Regions from separate parts of the Homo sapiens genome. Here all the other regions are linked to region 3. Evidence: promoter capture Hi-C in 16 types of primary human blood cells and fetal thymus (Javierre and others, 2016). All regions are on one chromosome and are shown on one strand. The core of a region is centred on a gene start or on the middle of the fragment in contact, and the rest is flanking DNA. Distances in the headings are between cores, read along the strand shown. Region 1 overlaps CKAP5 (cytoskeleton associated protein 5). Region 2 overlaps CKAP5 (cytoskeleton associated protein 5). Region 3 holds the start of AGBL2 (AGBL carboxypeptidase 2). Region 4 overlaps CKAP5 (cytoskeleton associated protein 5). Region 5 overlaps CKAP5 (cytoskeleton associated protein 5).

Evidence for each region. Contacts are between HindIII fragments. The CHiCAGO score rates a contact against its expected background, and 5 or more counts as called.
Region 1: a fragment that was not itself captured here is called in contact with the fragment with the promoter of AGBL2 in region 3 in 1 of 17 cell types (erythroblasts); the score reaches 5.1 in erythroblasts.
Region 2: a fragment that was not itself captured here is called in contact with the fragment with the promoter of AGBL2 in region 3 in 1 of 17 cell types (erythroblasts); the score reaches 6.1 in erythroblasts.
Region 4: a contact is called between a fragment that was not itself captured here and the fragment with the promoter of AGBL2 in region 3, in 1 of 17 cell types (monocytes). The highest score is 6.0, in monocytes.
Region 5: a contact is called between a fragment that was not itself captured here and the fragment with the promoter of AGBL2 in region 3, in 3 of 17 cell types (monocytes, fetal thymus and M0 macrophages). The highest score is 8.8, in monocytes.

The regions. Positions count from the first base shown.
Region 1 is chr11:46,762,999-46,765,698 of GRCh38, forward strand. CKAP5 (cytoskeleton associated protein 5) reads right to left here. Exons shown (of 44, transcript NM_001008938.4): 28 at 2,133-2,258; 29 at 483-632; 30 at 1-181. Among named protein-coding and RNA genes, the nearest start is that of SNORD67, 1.8 kb to the left of the region's middle. The HindIII fragment of the contact is 1,059 bases long and covers 796-1,854 here.
Region 2 is chr11:46,744,101-46,746,800 of GRCh38, forward strand. CKAP5 (cytoskeleton associated protein 5) reads right to left here. Exons shown (of 44, transcript NM_001008938.4): 43 at 326-477; 44 at 1-165. Among named protein-coding and RNA genes, the nearest start is that of MIR5582, 7.7 kb to the right of the region's middle. The HindIII fragment of the contact is 1,305 bases long and covers 653-1,957 here.
Region 3 is chr11:47,714,099-47,716,798 of GRCh38, forward strand. It overlaps AGBL2 (AGBL carboxypeptidase 2), which reads right to left and starts at 1,271. Exons shown (of 19, transcript NM_024783.4): 1 at 1,077-1,271; 2 at 520-652; 3 at 186-249. The coding sequence starts at 552. It overlaps FNBP4 (formin binding protein 4), which reads right to left. Exons shown (of 17, transcript NM_015308.5): 17 at 2,396-2,700. RefSeq lists an enhancer at 949-1,008. The HindIII fragment of the contact is 6,151 bases long and covers 1-2,434 here.
Region 4 is chr11:46,785,987-46,788,686 of GRCh38, forward strand. It overlaps CKAP5 (cytoskeleton associated protein 5), which reads right to left. Exons shown (of 44, transcript NM_001008938.4): 16 at 2,695-2,700. Among named protein-coding and RNA genes, the nearest start is that of SNORD67, 25 kb to the left of the region's middle. The HindIII fragment of the contact is 5,506 bases long and covers 1-2,700 here.
Region 5 is chr11:46,811,279-46,813,978 of GRCh38, forward strand. All of the region lies in intron 4 of CKAP5 (cytoskeleton associated protein 5), which reads right to left. Among named protein-coding and RNA genes, the nearest start is that of CKAP5, 34 kb to the right of the region's middle. The HindIII fragment of the contact is 1,761 bases long and covers 532-2,292 here.

The DNA of each region.
Region 1 (2,700 bases), core at 75-2,574, 950 kb before region 3:
AGGAAGATGCTTCATTCTCAGTAAGATGATATTCTTCTTCACTTAGCAAGGTGAAGAGCAATTTTAAATATTCTAGTGCTTTCATCAGGACGCTTGTATTGGTGTCAAAAAACCTCAGGGTAAGCCACTTTAAGATAAGATCCAGGCAACCAATAACTCCTTCTTTTTCACTCTCCAAGTGCTTAAAATAAAACAAAACAAAACTCCCACAAATAAGAATAATCAAAATCTTAATTCTACTAGGCAAGTGTCTTTTAAATTTTATTGGAGCCCAAAAAGAAAATGACAGATTTTTAAGCCTTCAATTAAGACCTAAAAAATATACACACACATTCATTTATTCTACCAAATAACAAGACAGCTCTAAAAATAGAGAACATAGTATATTCTACTTCCAAGTCATGCAAACTTCAGATTATTTCATAGGGCTCGGTATTTTTACATGTCTGAAATACATGTATATTTATCTATTGCAGACTTACATCAACCATAACAGCAAGGGCTTTGTTATGATGCTGAAAGTCTGAGTGAAACATCTCATCTTGTAACCATTTAGCCACACAGCTAGACATTTGAGTCTTTAGTTGCTCAATGTATTCATCCCGTGGGGTAGTAAAATTCCACTTTAGCACCTGGAAAAAACAAACGGTGAAAAGGGGCTACAGGGTGTTCAACTGAAATGAGGTAGAGAGCCTTATATAATGCAGCTGCAGGAACAATAAAATATTTAAAAATTCAACAATATTCATTTGTAATTAAATATGAATGCAAATTTCAAGGTGTCATACTTCTTGAAGCTTAACAACTCTGAAAATCTTCTAGGAATAAAAATTTTTGGAATTGTTTGTTTTTGAGACAGAGTCTCACCTGTTGCCTGGGCATGGCAGAGTGCAGTGGCATGATCATAGATCACTGTAGCATTAACCTCCCAGGCTCAAGTGATTCTTCTGCCTTAGCCCCCCAAGTAGCTGGGACTACAGACATGCACCACTATGCCCAGCTAATTAAAAAATTTTTTTCGTAGAGATGAAGTCTCAATATGTTGTCCAGGCTGGTTTTGAATTCCTGGGCTCAGGCAATTTGCCTGCCTTAGCCTCCCAAATTGTTGGGATGACAGGCATGAGCCACTGTGCCTGGCCTTGCAATTCTTACTAAAGAAAAAAAAAAAATTAATCCTACATATAACTATATAACATGGTGGACACTGCTGCCACATCTTTGATAGAGAGAAAATTTGAAATATCTATCAAAATTATGCATATCATCATTCTAGGAGTTTAATATAGATACACTCACATATGTGTACAAAGACCTACATTCAAAGATATTCACAGCAGCAGTGTTTGTAATAGTGAAAGACCAGAAACAACCTAAATGTCCAACATAGTGGGCGAAGGATAAAGAAAGGTACATACATACAATGCACCAATACAAACAGTGATACACACATATATACACAGATACGAATGATCTTTCAGATATTTCAAACATCATTAAAAGAAAATAGTGAGATACAGAACAAACAGTACGGCATGTCTGTATATGCCATCTGTATAAAAGGAGGGCTATATAAAAATATACATATGATAGTAGAGGTATAAAATATTTCTGGAGTAATACATTGAAAAAATGAGGACTAATATCCTCCCTGTGGAGGGATACTGGAACAGAGACATGCTTTTCTTACTATACTTTGCACTTTCTGTACTGCATATAATTTTTAAAAAAGATTATGTATTTTGAAAACAAATTTAAGTATCTAATGAAATCAAAGTAACATAAATGACTGAACTAGCCATTTATACAGTCACAAAGTCTGCCTTGTAAGGTCTTAAAAAGAAGGATTAATGAAGAAGCTTATACATCCAATTAATTAAAAAAAAAAATCAATGAAGATACCAAAAAAGCTACTAAATCATTTATTTCTATTTACAGGGAAAAATAGGCAATAACTCTATTCTATAGTTTCTTTTGTAGGAATTAATGCTCCCATAAACTAAATAATATAATTTATAAGCAAAAGAAACACTTAATTCCTAGATATTAAACAATAACATGAATTCAGACAGCAAAACTATTCTTGAATAACAATACAAGCAAAAATCTCCTGACGATTCTTAATCCTTCCTTACCTTCAATCCTTTTTCATCTTTCATCCTTTGCTCTTTTCCATTTGGAACAACAATAAAAATAGGCCCGGATTTGTCTTCATCCTCCTTTAAGCTGGTTTTGCTTGGCATCTTCTTCCCTTGTGCACTCTACAACCAAGGTTCAGGGAATACTGATTAGCTTGGCCACTTCTCCTTAAGAATATGATGCTGCTGCCCAGTAAAAGGGCACTGTAGAAAACAGAGATATCTTTCTACGTGATATTTCACATGAAAAAAACATGCATCACAGAATCTTGTATATGTTTTTGAACAGGTTCTCTAGAAATTTTTCTGAGAATATTCTTAAGTAACTGTTGGTTAGTTCTTGGACTGGCATGTTATGTAGTTGGAAAAACTGCTATTACTGATCATTAGTCTAGGTCACAAACTTTTTGTTTTTGTTTTCTTGAAATCTTCAACACTATTTATAGCTTTCCATATTAATGACATCTTTTTTTTTTTTTTTTTTTTTTTGAGACGGAGTCTCACTCTGTCGCCCAGGCTGGAGTGCAGTGGCGTGATCTCAGCTCACTGCAATCTCCACCTCCTA
Region 2 (2,700 bases), core at 55-2,554, 970 kb before region 3:
AGTTCCTGAAGAGTGAGTCTGGTTAGAATCCAGGTCTGAATGCTGGTGCTGCTCCCGTGACTCCCGGAGCTGAGAGAGTTTGCTGTGGAGCATGTCTGTGGAAGAGGCGACAGTAGGAACTGCTGGTTTGGAGAGCAAAGAGGTCAAAGGAGGTCGGTCATCTTGCTATTGAGAGAAGGAGAGAGATTGTCTAAGGTCAGGTCAAGCAGGTCAAGATGCAGCTCCAGAACTACAGCAAGACTAAGCCACTTCTCTGTGGGCCAGCCTGCCTCGGACCTGCTTGTGACTACCCTCCCTGAACTGCACAGAAGAAAAGGAGCAGTACCTTTGTGTTGTCCAGACCACATCGCTGTCGGAGGATCTTTAGCCTTTCCAAGTAGACAGATGGCCCCACTTCTTCCCCATTTGTGTTACCTATGGAGGACACTGTGCTTGTGGGCGTGGGCACACATGTGACTTCCATCTGAGGGGAGATGCCTAGAGGGGAAAAAGTAGAAAGAATATTCAGATATCCACATATCCCCCTTCTAAAGTGCCTTGGTTAATCTCCCACCAAAAAGAACAATTAAGAATTTCCTATACTTGAAAACGACAAATTCCACAAGAATCTACCTGGAGTTGGTGATAAGGGTGCTCTGAAATATACAATATAAGCTTCTTGAGAATGCAAAAAACTGATATAGAAAGGCAGAATGTAAATTGGGTCATCCATCTGCATCCTGGGTTATGCAGGGGATTGTACTCCAGTAATCCCAGGGCTGACTTGGGCAATCCAAAAAGCTGAAGCTACTCCTAAGCATACTGTAATTGCCCAACTGAAAAACCCGAGGACCTTAAATGTTTGGAAGAATTAGATTAAGTTTGGACCAATGTCACATAGGAGAAACTCATTTGAACCTGTGAAGGAAGCAAGGTGTCCAAGGCTATGGTGTATTCATGGGGAAGAGAAGGTGTCCAACAATTATCTAAAGAGGGCATAGAACTGGAGTGTCTGTAACCCTACCACTAAGATCAATATTCTGGCAGGAGAGAGGAAAACCAAAACAACAAAAAATCCATCACACTTCCTAAATTTCTGAGAATGAACAATGATACAATGCGGGCCTTTAAAATATTTCACTTGGTATCAATGCAAATGCATTCCACAGGCCCCAAAGGTAAGGTACTGGGAGGAAACACTGCCTTATGGTAAATAGAAAAGTAGAAAGGTTACTCCAGGGAAAAAGGACTCCTTTAATGTAAAGATGAGGAGAATCCTCTGAGGGGGTGAAAAATGAATGAAGAATTATGTAAAAGCCAGCAATATGAGATGTCTGAATACTCTAAGGCACAAAATCAATTTAATAATCAGTGGGAATACATGCTTGGGTTGCAAATGTGCTGTTTAGGCCAAAATTATCACACGTTGAACATCCCCAAAAAGGGCTTTGGAAACAAGGATAGGATGCCTGCCCTGATCAAACCATGGTATGTTTACATGTGGCATACTGTTGGACATTCTGCACACCACACTTTAACTCCTAAGAGGTCTTTTTCATTAAAGACCAGCCTGGGCAACAAAAAGAGACCCTGGCTGGGCACAGTGGCTCATGCCTGTAATCCAAGCACTTTGGGAGACCAAGACAGGTGGATCACTTAGAGGTCAGGGGTTCAAGACCAACCTGGCCAACATGGTGAAACCCTCTTAAAAAAAATTCAAAAATTAGCTGGGGGTGGTGGCACACACCTATAATCCCAGCTACTCGGGAGGCCAAGACATGAGAATCACTTGAACCCAGGAGGCAGAAGCTGCAGTGAGCCGAGATCGCACCACTGTACTCCAGCCTGGGTGACAGAGTGAGAACCTATCTCAAAAAAACCTCAAAAAATAAAAACACTTGTAAAGTCTTGGAAAGGCGTAATTTAAGGTGTCAAAAACAAAAAAGAACTCCTATTTAAGAGAACAAAATTTAACTGAAGCTTCAGCCCAGCAAGATACAGGCTGAGAGTGGATATGATCAGGGTCTGAAAAACACAAAGGGACATGCTTTGACAGGCAAACACATTCTCAAATGTAAGAGTAGGTGAATGTCACTAAACTCGGAAAGAACTAAGCATAGAACTGATGAGAGGGCACTTTTGCAGTTGGGTCTGTCTTGTCTTGGTTTAAGGCTCATGATAGCTATTTTCTATAACTGAAACCTCCTAAGTCTTCTGTTTGTCTCTAGATCCTGTGAGCAGTAATTCTCGAATAGGGACTTTTTCACTGTGGGGGCAGTAACATTTCAGCTTAAACTTAGTTACTGCATTCATTTATATCATTTAACAAATATCATCATGTGTGGCTTAAGGGCAGGGATACATTCTGAGAAATGCATTTGTTAGATAATTTCATTGTTATGTGAACACCTAGTTGGTATAACCTGCCACACACCTAGGCTACAAGCCTGTACAGCATGTTACTGTACTGAATACTATAGGCAATGTTAACACAAAGTATTTATGTATCTAAACATAGAGAAGGTACAGTAAGAATGTTGTATAAAAGATAAATGGTACACCTGTATAGGACATTTACCAGGAATGGAGCTTGCAGGACTGGAAGTTGCTCTGGGTGAGTGGTGTGTGAAGGTGAAAGCCTAGGACACTACTGTCAACTTTATAAACACTGTACACTTAGGCTACACTAAACTTATACAAAAATAATTGTGCTATGACATT
Region 3 (2,700 bases), core at 21-2,520:
CTTGACAGAGGTGACCCGCAGATCAATGGGGAAAGGAAGTACTTTTCACTAATGGTAGAGGAAAAAGTATTTATTTGTCAATGCAAATTATTTATTAGTCTACCCAAGTGCAACCCTCCCAGCTAACGAAGCAATTTTCCTCTTGAGTCCAGGAAAGGTGATACTAGATAAGAACATGGTATTACCTTTAAAGTAGCCATAATATTGGAGGTGACGGTACATAAAGTCTTCATAAGGATCAGGAATAGTCTGTGAAAGGAAAGGCCACTTCAATCAAGATAATGTTTTCAAACCATAATAGACTCAACAAAAAGTACATGAGCGTTGTTGCATAGGACTAGACTAAACCAAGCGAGCTGCATTCCATGCGAATTATTCTATCGTGGGGATCAAGATCTCCAGCTGAGAAAAGATGCCACCAGAACATCCCTTCTCATCTAGTAGCAGATTTCTGTGGAGTTCCCGAAGAAATGGAGTTCCCCGAAGAAATTTCTGTGGCTTTCCGTGTTGTGTACCGACCTGCTTTAGGTGCGTTTCCAAAGCTGGGAACATGTTACTTCTGGATGGTAGGCTGAAAACTAGTCAGTGACATTAGCATCCAGTCGCAAACCCTGCCCAATTTCCAAATAGGCAGCTGATTACACAAGAGAAGCTACAAAGCCACAAGAGGACAAGTGAAAAAACTGCCAATACCTCCCCGGGCGCCCCCCAGCTCCCTCTTGACTTCAGAAAACCCTGCCAACCCAGCTTCTCCTCAGCTAAACAAGGTGGTCACGCCGAGGCCAGAGGTGCATCTGAGACAGGGAGGGCAGCGTATCTTCCCGCTTCTTCTTCCCAAGGTGCTGGCCCCATGCTTCCCTTTCCCTGAGAAAGGAGATGCTCGCCACAGGAAAGTGAAAGAAATGGGTATGGGAGCACGCGACGAAGTCGTCTCGGTAGGTGCCGATGGAAAAAGGTCAGGGGGTTGGGAAAGTGGGCCCTAAAGATTGAATTTAGGGTTCAGAGGAACCTGGTCTGGGGCAGGTGGTGAGGGGGTTTCCTAAGGGTAGGAGCGGGGAAGGAGAGCAGAAACTTCCCAGGAGGGCAGAGCGATGGATGCGACCGCCTTCGCGCCCCGGCCCGTCCCAAGCAGCACGGATGGCTGCGGCAGAGAAGCTCCAGCGAGGCAGGCGGCCACCGCACTTAAGTACAGAGGCCAAGCAGTGTGCGGGCAAGGGGACAAACTCGCTGCACCCGCCCGCCACCGCCTTCTGTGAGGGCCCGGGTAGTCTAGCAACCGAAAGCAGGAAGCGGAGAAAGGGCGGGGCGGTCGGGCGCTTCCGGGGAGCTAGGCCTCGCCCCCAAGGAGGGAGCGGGGACCCCGGGAAGGTCTGCAACATGTATGGCGGGCAGCGGCTTTCTTCCCCTCATACATCACAGCCCCAGCCTCGGAATCGAAACCGCATTGATGAGTACGATGCCAGTAGCCTTCAACATACTTCCAAGCTGGTTTGCTGTTGGCTTTAGATAACTGTTATGCATAATTTGCTCTAAGAGAGCTGCTGCTTCTCTCCTTTCACCTTAACATTCTCTCCACTGCACAGCTAGAAAGGAAAAATTACCTTCTACACTGCAAATCTTAAGAAACAGAGCTAACAAATTCAAATCACACATTTTGATTAGGTTTAAAAAAATCAATTATATGCATAGAAATTTACTCCAGGCCAGGCGCGGTGGCTCTCGCCTGTAATCCCAGAACTTTGGGAGGTCGAGAGTTGGAGACTAGCCTGACCAACATGGAAAAACCCCATCTCTACTAAAAATACAAAATTAGCTGGGTGTGGTGGCGCATGCCTGTAATCCCAGCTACTCGGGAGGCTGAGGCAGGAGAATCACTTGAACCTGGGAGGCGGAGGTTGCGGTGAGCCGAGATCGTGCCATTGCACTCCAGCCTGAGCAACAAGAGCGAAATTCTGTCTCCAGAAAAAAAAAAAACAAAAAACCAACAACAAAAAAATAAATATACTACAATAAAATTCAAACACGTGTCTTTGGTTAACTATATATGAATATAACCGTATCTGTTACTTTTATCAGTGGGGGGAAAAAAGCTATAAAGCACCTTTTTTTCTGAAATGTTAACCATATTACATCATTGCCAGGAATTAAGTAGGTAAAATATTATCTAATATGGCTATTAACCAATCTAGATATTATAGATAATATTAGACCCCAAAACTTTGATCACACAGCACCATCTGGGACTAGAAGCCTGTTTGTCTAAACTGGCCCCACCACTCCCCATTAAAGATCTCCTGCTCATTTTCTTGAAAGCTGTTGTTAAATGTTTGCACCTTGCATTGTATATGCTTAGAAAAAAAAACAAGTCCTGGTTACATAATCAGAATAACAGGAGTTGACGAGCAAAAGGATAACCCATCAGGATTATAAAAAAAGCTTTATTAGTGCATATATACAAATTTACAAGGTCAGAAACTGGAGAAATACAAAGAGCTTTAAAACACAATTTGCCGTTTCCTCAGTTTAAAGTGACTTTTACCTGATTGTGATACAACAGAAAGTACAGAACAGTAAACTGCTTTTTAAATACTGGAATTTTATGGAGAATACATTCACATAAAGAAAGGAGGTGAATTTTGTTTTGGAACAGGGTTAAGACAATGGAGACATTAATACATAGAGTGTCTTGTTGTATTTACT
Region 4 (2,700 bases), core at 174-2,673, 930 kb before region 3:
AAAATTTAAAAAATTAAAAAAAAAATTCCCAAACCAAAAAACAAACCAAAGAAATGTAATTATCTTGGGTGGGACTTCTGCAATTGTGGAGTCAATACCTCTGAAAAACTGATCTTCCTCAAAAGCAACAAAGAACACTGGCAAAAACTATCCAAATCAACTTATCTCACAACTCTGAAAATTAAATAAGGCTTGTAACATACAAGAACCATTTAAAGAAAGGATGCTGAATTTTAGTAAGGACAGTGAGGTTTCTGGTGATTTAACTTGCCTTGCTCCCCTTTTCTTCCAGCTCCACAGTAGCCTTCAAAACCTGAAGTCTTGTAACCATGGCAACTATGAAAACCTAGAGCTGTGCAGCCACTGGCAGGTGGGGGGACAGCTCAGGTTTGGACCTCCTCAAAAAGTTTTGACCCAAAGTACTGTCTTGTCTGGCAGCTTCCTAGAAAAGCTCCATTTGAAAGTCCTGTTATTTGACTGGACTCTGGCTAGCTCAGTGGGAAAAGCCCTATCCCCAGGGATTTTGTTGAAAACAACGAAAACAATGAGTGGCAACTGTTTAACATCTAACATCAGAACTGTGTAAGTCCATAATACCAGCTGGGGGAACCCAGCTTGGTCAAAAACATAAAAGGACCTAGGGAATAAGATATCCACAGAGGACTTTGAGAATCTAGAAGGTCATGCGAATATTCAAGGTTATGTGTATGCCCAGGAAAGACTGAAAAGGGCCCTAATCTCTGACTGACCTTCAAGACCTTGCTTAAAAAGTGAATTCCAGGGTAAAGCTGTAAAGTGCCTGAGTATCTCTGGCATGACCCAGCGCGCACACACACACAAACATACACACCTTCCCCCTTGGCAGAGGGTGGGAGACAGATCACATTGGTTCAAGGCATTTAAGAAAATCTCTCCAGTCATTAGCTGGTCATTAAGTTAACCAAGGAGAGAGTCTTTGGTGGCTGAAAATCAAAATCACAATGAGATTACACTTCATACTGTCTATGAATTTGAGAAAAAAATTAGCAAGGTGTAGTGATGCACGCCTGTGGTCCCGACTACTTGGGAGGCTGAAGTGGGAGGATCTCTGGAGCCTAAGGTGTCAACACTGCAGTGAGCCACGTTTGCACCACCACACTCCAGCCTGGACAACTGAGTGAAGCCCTTTCTCAAAAAAAAAGAAGGTGGTGTGAGAGGAAGAGGGCACCTCAAGAATCTTTTAGAATATTTAGCCTTTGTGGAGCTGGCCTATACGAATAAGGTGCTATGTAACACAATGTAAGGGACACACAGTGTATGAGGGAGCTAAACATCCTAGACAGAAAACAAGAGGTGGCAGCAGAAGAGAAACCAAAAAGAGACTAGCAGGATGCCAATAATAAACCTGATACATTTCAAGTTTGTTTAGCATGAGGTCTATTGTATGTACATCTAGAAAAAGAGAAGGAAACTTTTTCTCATTTTCCTTCCTGCAGCACTTTCCTATACTTCCCTCTATACCCACCCCTTAGACTAATAACTTGGTACTGCTAAATTTCAGCTCTATTATCAGTTAATGGGGCTATACAATTGATTATGTGGTAAATTTTCACTGGCAATTTAAGGACTGCACTTATTTTTTATCCTATCAAATAAAAAAGCTATCTCACTGTTTATTTCTCCCTTGAATATGTAAAGATTGGATAAGGAGGCTTCTAGGCCTAAAAATGAGAAGAAAAAAATGTATATATCTAAATTATACAAATTATATATGGATGTATACATATTTACATATTTATACACATATAAATTCCTAATTATATAAAGTTATACAGTTGACCCTTGAACAACATGGGTTTGAACTGCGAAGATCCACTTATGCATGAATTTTCTTCTGCCTCTGCCACTCCTGAAACAGCAAGACAAACCCCTTTTCTTACTCTTTCTCCTCCTTCAGCCTATTCAACATGAAGATGATGGGAATTGAAGACCTTTATGATGATCCACTGCCACTTAATAAATAGTAAATATGTTTTCTCTTCCTTAGGATTTTCTTAATCACATTTTCTCTCTAGCTTACTTTATTGTAAGAATACAATATACAATACATGTACCATTCAAAATATGTTAACTGACTATGTTATCAGTAGGGCTTCTGGCAACAGTAGGCTATTAGTAGTTAAGTTCTTGGGGAGTCCAGAGTTATATGTGAAGTTTCAACTGCACAAGGGGTAGTACCCCTAATCACCACATTGTTCAAGAGTCAACTGTAGTTATGTGTTCAATCAAAATGCACACACCCCATTGTTCATTAAAAATCATTACCAAGCTGGGCGCGGTGGCTCACGCCCGTAATCCCAGCATTTTGGGAGGCCAAGGCAGGCGGATCACCTGAGGTCAGGAGTTCGAGACCAGCCTGACCAACATAGAGAAACCGCGTCTCTACTAAAAATACAAAATTAGCCGGGCATGGTAGCGGGTGCCTGTAATCCCAGCTACTCGGGAGGCTGAGGCAGGAGAATTGCTTGAACCCAGGAGGTGGAGGTTGTGGTGAGCCAAGGTCGTGCCATTGCACTCCAGCCTGGGCAACAAGAGCGAAACTCCGTCTCAAAAAAAAAAAAATCATTACGAAAACTATTCTGCTGTATTACTCCATAGGATGATGTAATGTAAATTACTTCAATAAAAGACATCAAATCTCACATTTTAAAATACCTGAAA
Region 5 (2,700 bases), core at 162-2,661, 900 kb before region 3:
AAGAATTATATAAGTTCAGTTTTTTTTAAGGCAACAAAAGAAAAGGAACTCATAACTGCTTACCTACTAAGGTGTTGTTCTTCTAAGAATATTATTTAATGTGTAGGGCCCAAAATAATATTACCATTTTTAAACAAACTTTCTAGGTAAGCAGACTAGGAATAATTAAAACCTATAAAGGATCAACATGTTTAATACCCTTTTTTTTTCTTTTTCAGATGGCATTTTGCTCTTGTTGCCCAGGCTAGAGTGGTATGGCATGATTGCAGCTCACTGCAACCTCTGCCTCCTGAGTTCAGGTGATTCTCCTGTCTCAGTCTCCCAAGTAGCTGGGGTTACAGGCATGCGCCACCACGCCCAGCAAATTTTTGTATTTTTAGTAGAGATGGGGTTTCACTATGTTGGCCAGGCTGGTCTGGAACTCCTGACTTCAGGTGATCCACCCGCCTCAGCCTCCTAAAGTGCTGGATTACAGGCGTGAGCCACCACACCCAGCCTAATACCACAAATATGTATGTATATACATATAAAAGCTTACAAATATAAACTAGTTTATAAATATTTACATGAATGAAATCTACTTTTAATAAACCTTTAATAGCTCCTATAATTAAAGTGATTCATTTACCTAGATAGATCACAAATCTTGGCAATATTTTGTTCCTGACTTTGTGGCTATCACACTATAACTCTGGGCATCTTAAATCTTTCTTTACTTCAGTTTTCTATGGGGAAAATGTTGCATTTTGACTTCTTTCAAAAAGCATATTTGGCCAGGCGCAGTGGCTCACACCTATAATCCCGGCACTTTGGGAGGCTGAGGCAGGTAGATCACCTGGGGTCAGAAGTTCAAGGCCAGCCTGGCCAACATGGTGAAACCCTGTCTCTACAAAAATACAAAAATTAGCCAGGCACGATAGTGGGCGCCTGTAATCCCAGCTACCTGGGAGACTGAGGTGGAAGAATCGCTTGAACCCGGGAGGCAGAGGTTGCAGTGAGCCGAGATCGCGCCACTGCACTCCATCCAGCCTGGGCAACAGAGCAAGGTTCCGTCTCAAAAAAAAAATAAAATTAAAAAAAAGTGTGTTTAACCTTACATATCTGTCATAGATTACATTTTCAAGTTCCCAACTGGCCAATTTTAGCTATCTAATATCACTATTAACATTTGTGAGTATCAGATTCTGGAGCAGGAGAGATTTATTTATGAAAGAACACTGAAATTCTGTATGAGTAGTAGGACCCAAATTATTATTTATCTATTATCTAATGTGCACAAATTTATCTCATGTGAGCAAATGCAACAAAATTACTCAGTAATAGCTACTAGTGTACTCCAACGATTTTTTTTTCTTGGTTTTTGTTTTTACTTTTTTGGAGACAGGGTCTCACTATGTCATCCAGGCTGGAATGCAGTGGTATGATCACAGCTCACTGCAGCCTCGACCTTCCCTGCTCAAGCTATTCTCCAGACTCAGTCCCCCAAGCAGCTGAGACTACAGAGGGGCACCACCATGCCCGGCTAATTTTTTTTTTGTATTTTTTGTAGAGACGGGGTTTCTCCTTGTTGCCCAGGCTGGTCTTGAACTCCTGGGCTCAGGCAATCTGCCTGCCTCAGCCTCCCAACCCAAAGTGCTGGGACAATACAGGCATGAGCCACTGCTCCTGGCCTTAATTATTATTATTATTTTTGAGATAGTGTCTCACTCTGTTAACCAGGCTGGAGTACAGTGACACAATCATAGCTCACAGCAGCCTCACCCCCTGGGCTCAAGTAATCTTCCTGCCTCCTGAGTTGGTGGGACTACAGGCACAATAAAAAAAGAATTTTTAATAAGATACCTGGCTATGTGATATAGTTTAAGTACAAATATCATGAGAATAACCTACATAATCTCTAAGATTTTTTAAAATGCTTTTATATTATTAAAAAAATTACATTTTAACTTGGCTCAGCTGACCTTTAAGATTAAACAAAAAATAAGAAATTATAGTGGCAATAAACCATTTTGTTTTAGGGATATTTAACATGGTGCCTGAAGAACCTAACATTTGAGATTTCTTAAATCTTCCTATATATTATTACTGTTTCATCTGAATCTTTTTTCTCTATCCTGGCCTCCTTCTGTAAGAAAAAAAAGATGGAGCAAGTCCACATGGAAAATAGACACCTTAATAAAATAAAACCTAATTTTGATACTAAACGTATTACTATAGAAAACACAAAAGGGTACTAGAAACCTGTTTTAGGTACCACAAATGTTTCTGGTCACCTGAAGCTCTCACTAACAAAGCTTTAGCAAGCTCTGGAACCCAGGATCAAGCAGTTTGGCCTCAAGGTTCTTGAGGGTCCCAGAGAGCTACCTAGTTAAACTATAGACTCTGAAATGCTTTAGGACAAATAAAGAACCACACAGGGATGGGACTACATAACAACATCTATGAAGAAAACATGAGATATACGTAACTTGTTATTTTCCTACCCTTATTCTCCCAGTTTAGCTAAAAAATGAAATAACCAGAGTACACAGCACTCCAGACTAGAAACTTGTAATTTAAAGGTAGAAGATTATAGGCCAGGTGCGGTTGCTTATGTCTGTAATCCCAGCACTTTGGGAGGCCGAGGTGGGATCACTTGATGCCAGGAGTTCCAGACCAGCCTGACCAACATGGAGAAACCCATCTCTATTAAAGAAAAAA